2 separate regions of the Homo sapiens genome follow, and region 1 is linked to region 2. The links are contacts of gene promoters, found by promoter capture Hi-C in human tissues and cell types (Jung and others, 2019). All regions are on one chromosome and are shown on one strand. Each heading gives the region's core, a stretch centred on a gene start or on the middle of the fragment in contact. The rest is flanking DNA. Distances are from core to core; before and after follow the strand shown. Region 1 has its middle 1.8 kb from the start of LINC00644. Region 2 holds the start of WDR89 (WD repeat domain 89).

Evidence for each region. The method cuts DNA at HindIII sites, captures the fragments that hold promoters and counts their contacts. A contact is called where the count stands out against the background at its distance.
Region 1: a fragment that was not itself captured here is called in contact with the fragment with the promoter of WDR89 in region 2 in 1 of the 25 tissues and cell types used here (dorsolateral prefrontal cortex).

The regions. Positions count from the first base shown.
Region 1 is chr14:62,140,407-62,143,106 of GRCh38, reverse strand. No RefSeq gene overlaps it. Among named protein-coding and RNA genes, the nearest start is that of LINC00644, 1.8 kb to the right of the region's middle. The HindIII fragment of the contact is 3,120 bases long and covers 1-2,700 here.
Region 2 is chr14:63,640,587-63,643,286 of GRCh38, reverse strand. It overlaps WDR89 (WD repeat domain 89), which reads left to right and starts at 1,416. Exons shown (of 3, transcript NM_080666.4): 1 at 1,416-1,483. LOC105370532 (a long non-coding RNA gene) reads right to left here and starts at 1,226. Exons shown (of 3, transcript XR_001750790.3): 1 at 1,090-1,226. RefSeq lists enhancers at 835-1,104, 1,515-1,614, 1,169-1,828. The HindIII fragment of the contact is 13,842 bases long and covers 1-2,700 here.

The DNA of each region.
Region 1 (2,700 bases), core at 177-2,676, 1.5 Mb after region 2:
ATACATACACATTGGCTTAGAACAGAGCATCTTTTATAAAGAATAAATACCTCAAGCTTTGAGAAGTCTCATGAGAAGCATCAGAATTACTTGTCTGGAACCATTTTATACCAAGCTATTTTTGAATGAATGAGGAACCTAGAATAACTGGAAAACTAAAGGTTTCTCATTATTTCTAAGTCAGTAACAGAAATTTTCTTAATCAGATTAATGGATTGACATTTTAATCTTGCATTGTTATTTATTTTACTCAGCTAAAATTTTTTGAGTTTGATCCTTAACTTGGGCATAGTATTAAATGCTGTACATGAGATAATTGGTGCTTCTCTTAGTAAACCTAAGACTTAGGTGAAATTGTTTCCCCTGTTTTAGAGACGAGAAAACCAAAGTTTAATGCTTTTTCCATTTAGAAAAAAAAATGCAGCTCGCTACCAGCACTCATTTAATTTTACATAAACACATTCTTTGAGGCTAAAGCCAATCCGACTGATTTTCAATGTGAAAATAAAATATAAAAACTGTTCTTGGGGTTACTTCTAAACAGAACTAACATCAGAATCATCCGTTTCAGAAAAATCAAATTCATCAAATGAATCATTGGCCAACAACTGCTCGTTGTAGGAATGCTACGTTTTCTAGGATTTGACATTTTCAGCGATGGAGAATTATTACATTTTTGTAAACGAAAATACCACTACTAAAAACAGAATGCTATCAATAGAATGGTGTCTCTTGTTTCCAAAGTTGATATAGTAGAGCGATGTGAAAATAATAATAAAAGCGAGATATTTTGTGGCAAAGTTATCTTGGAGTAAACGCTGCAGCCACCGGCAAGTCGTCTCAAGGAAAACAGGAAAAGGGTTAAAGAAGCTTAGACAGGAACTTTCCCAAAGTCCTACAGGTATAGGTAGTGGTATTAAGGCTTGAAGCTGGGTCCATCTTACTCAAAAACCATTTTCCTAAGCACAACAATACACTGTCTCACAGTGAAGGCTCAGCAGTCAGGCTACAGGAGTTCTAATTTTGGCTCTACCACCGACCAGCTGGACAGCGCTGGACTAGTTTCTTAAATTCTTTGTACCTCAGTTTTCTTCACTATAAATTTGAAAATAATAAAATGTAACTTTTATGGTTGGTGAGAAGTCAATTAAACACTTACAAAACCTCACATATAGTAAATGCTGAACAAATGGTAGCTATTTTAATTTTTGTTCATTCAGCATAGCACTGGCTGAATGAATTAAAGACAAATTATCAGGAAAGATCAAGATAATATGTGGCCTCCATATCCAAGGGCCATATAGTCTAGGGGAGAGGAGAGGTATGTAATGAAATAATTCAACACAAGGCAGACAATGAAAAAGAGAGAGAGAGAGATACAAAATGCTATAAGGGCCCAAATGAAAAAAAGAGTATATCCAGTTGGAAGAGTACAAGACATTTAATGGAAAAAAAAATGACATTAGAATTGGACCAAAAATGAATGGAGCGTTTAAATTGCTGGTCATACAGTTCTAGACACTGGGATCGAAAAAGAAAAATCCCACTGTCTGATGGTGTTTTATGTCCACAAATCAGATTATAAAATCGTGAAGAGCAAAGACTGCTTCTGTTGTTCCCTCCTGAGCACTGCAAAACAGTTGTGGTTGTTCTGAGTGTCAATATTCACTCACGTCACCAACCCCTAGGGACCAGTTTGTTCACAATTGTGGCAGCAGCCTGCACCCCACACCATCATCTCTCACTCCATTACAAGTCTTTGGCACCTTGTAAGTCATCCATATCTATGGGCACTGGAAACTAGAGAGAATTTTGTAAGGAGAAGGCCCACATGGAAGGTCAAGGAGGTCCATATATACCATATGGAATTTTAAGGAGCATGCCCAAAGAAATTATTTGTCAGAGAATCATAATGATATAGTATTTTTGAGTAATTATCAGTAGTTCTAGAAGATTTAGCAACTGGCTTTCTAACTGCTTCTCCCACTCAATTCCCTCCTAATCCCAGACTTATATTTTCAGCTGCTTTATTGACGTTCCACTTGAATGTTTCACTCCAAGCTAAAATATGAAACACTAAGTTGATGATCCCTCTCCCTACCTCATGTTCTTCTTTTTCTTTGTCTGTAAGTGGCCGACCGTTGTTCCATTTGTCCGAAATCTAAACGACCGCCATCCAAATAGAAATACAATGTGAGCCACATACATAATTTTAAATTTTCTAGTGTCCACACTAAACATTTTTAAAGAAACAGGTTAAGTTAATTTTAAATATATTTTATGTAATGCTGTATGAACTAAATATTAGCATTTCAACATGTAAGCAATGTGATATTTACATTCTTCAATATAAAAACCTTAGAAATCCAGAGTATATTTTACAATTACAGTACATCTCAATTTAGACCATCCACAGTTCAAGCGGCCAGTTGCTACATTACTGGGTCTTTGTTACATAGAAAATGCAGGTCTGTCTGCATCTGAAAAGTGACTCTTCACTCTTGTTCCCTCACCCTCCATCTCCAAGCGTTTAGTGTGTCTCCGTAATGTCTCTCATAACTATTTTGCCATTTCTATTCAACACATGTAAGACCAACCTCTCCAAAGTGCTATCAAAAACACCATCAATGGCTCCCAGTCGCCTACCAAAGAGGATTCAGATGCCTCACACTGGTGTTCAAAGCCTTCCACAAAAAGTGC
Region 2 (2,700 bases), core at 167-2,666:
GAAGTATTACATACATCCGAAATCATGTTTTTTTCTTCTACAGTCGAAAGTTTGTATTACATGTAAAATAGGAAAAAAATATTAAAATTTTTCGAAAGCGAAAAGTCTACTCAGCAAGTTTTTGGTATTTATTAATGGTTTTACTTTTGCTAGACACAAAAATGAAATACCGCTAAATTAGCTCACAGAAGAGTTCAGGATTCTATAGACTCAGGAAAAGCCTGTCCTAAAACTGTTTTAATAAAGGCTGAAAATAGACACTATAATACAGTCTTTAATAATATACAATGTGTATTCCTCCTGATGGTGGTCTTGCTTGACATTTTAAGCATAGCCCTATTTTCCTGTGAAGATAGCAGCCAGTTCTGCTTCATGTCATAACAACACTTGATTCATGTAAGCAGCTGCTACCTATGCCATCACAGTACACATAATTGCTAAATGTAGGGTTCAAATAATCGTAAATGGACACTAATATGAAAATCAGACTGTTTTGTTGTAACAGCAAAAGTTTTAGAAACAAATAATTTTAGTATCTACTTAGTACAGTAAGCATGAACATATAGTATACAGCTAGGCACAGCAGTAAATTGTTGGAAACACTAACATTTATTGTTTACGAACATACATGCAGTGTTTACACATTTCTTAAATGTTGTCTTTAATGCTGCTGATAAACGAAAGGATAAAAAGTCCAACAAACCACAATAAATGTCAATGGGTGTTATTAACAACATGAAAGAACTCAGTAGCAACAACCACATTTAAAGCTACAGGACTCGAAAGTTCCGGACTACAAATCCCAGAGTTCCCTAGAGCCCAGGCGGAGCTACCTTCAAACTGATCGCTTTTTCACCCAATGACAGCCAGAGAATCCCTAAACCACATTCAGCCCGGCCTGAAGGGCTGGTTTCTTCGCGTGAAAACAATAAGGTATTACGTAGACTTTCTGAACACGAGTGGTAGTTTCAGGGCCTGAGTCTAACTACTAAATTATTTCTCCCCGCATTAGTCTCCTAGTCATCTTAATAACTCTCTACCCAACTCTGGCTCGGTGGAAACTCGGAACGTCTAAATGCTGAAACTCACGTAAATCAGTACCAGCGGATGCATCCAGTCAGCCACGAGGAAGGCGGAATCCGCCTTATTCTTGCCCTTTATTGGCCACGCATCCCACCAATGGGGCCATTAAACTTCCGCTAACGCAGCGTACGGCGTGGTGGTGTGAGCGTTGTACGTACGCTGGGTCTACGAAGGGGCAGGCGTTCTGCTTTCGTCCAATCGGAAGCTAGCAAGAATTCCCCGGGCCGCTATGCCCCACTTCTTTCGCGTCGCGTTACGGGCCGCCTCTCTGCAGCCGACCAATCCTCTTGATTTTCTTGTGCGCATTACCCAATCAGAGAGGTCGAGGCGGGGTTCCACTTGACCGCTCTAAGCCGCCGCGCAGCCTGCGTTTTCTCCGGTACAGGTTGAGGCTACTAAGGTACATTTTGCTGGGCCAGGCTGGGCGGGTCCCCGGGATGGGCAGCCCTCTCGACGAGCGGCGACGCCGTGGTTGAGTCTAGAAAGCTAGAGTTGCTGGACAGCTATCGCGGGAGCGCGGAGGGAAGTGGGAGGTCTGGACGGAGTGTGCACGTGTTGGCAGTCTCGCTCCGCCGTCGGAGCCACCAGGTCAAACCTGTGCTGGCCCTGGCCAAAGAAACTTCTGCGGGTCAGGCTGCTGTTGCCGGTGCAGTTCCCAGTACTTCCTCTGGGGCGTTTTTCAATAAAAGCCAAACGCCCTTGCTCATTTTCAGGGAAAGACCTGTTTCCTCCTGCTCTTTCCTCTCCACGGATACTCTCCCCACCACTAAAAGGGTTTAGTATAATCCTTTTGTAGGCCAGAAAGCAGATTTTCACTTGGGAAGAGACGACCCGTAGTATGGGATGTGGTATGATACCAGCAACTGGTCTATTATATCATTTAAACCACATGGCTATCTAAAGAGGTAGGTACTGTGAGTGTTCTCATTTTCACGCGAAGCAGTGTTAGACATTACTCATTCTTGTGTTTTCTTTAGCTTGTCTCTGACAAATTGTGGCATTCAGCTTCCATGGATGTAAAATTAAAAGATGGTATAATTTGTAAAATGTTGCTCCTGTTTTCTTTTTTGTTTTTCTTTTTCTTTTTCTTTTTTTTTTTTTTTTTTGAGATGGAGTCTCAGGCTGTCGCGCAGGCTGGAGTGCAGTGGGGCGATCTCGGCTTACTGCAACCTCCGCCCCCCGGGTTCAAGCGATTCTCCAGCCTCAGCCTCCCGAGTAGCCGGGATTATAGGCGCCTGGCACCACGCCCGGCTAATTTTTGTATTTTTAGTAGAGACGGGATTTCACCATACTGGTCAGGCCGGTCTCGAACTCCTGACTTCAGGTGATCCACTCGCCTCTGCCTCCCAAAGTGCTGGGATTACAGGCGTGAGCCACCGTGCCCGGCCGTTTTCTTTATTAATTTGAAATTATTTAAAGTCAATAAAAGCCTGGGCGCGGTGGCTCACGCCAGTAATCCCAGCACTTTGGGAGGCCGAGGCGGGCGGATCACGAGGTCAGGAGTTCGAGACCAGCCTGGTCAACATGGTGAAACCCCCGTCTCTACTACGAATGCAAAAATGTGGCGGGCGCCTGTAGTCCCAGCTACTCGGGAGGCTGAGGCAGGAGAATCGCTTG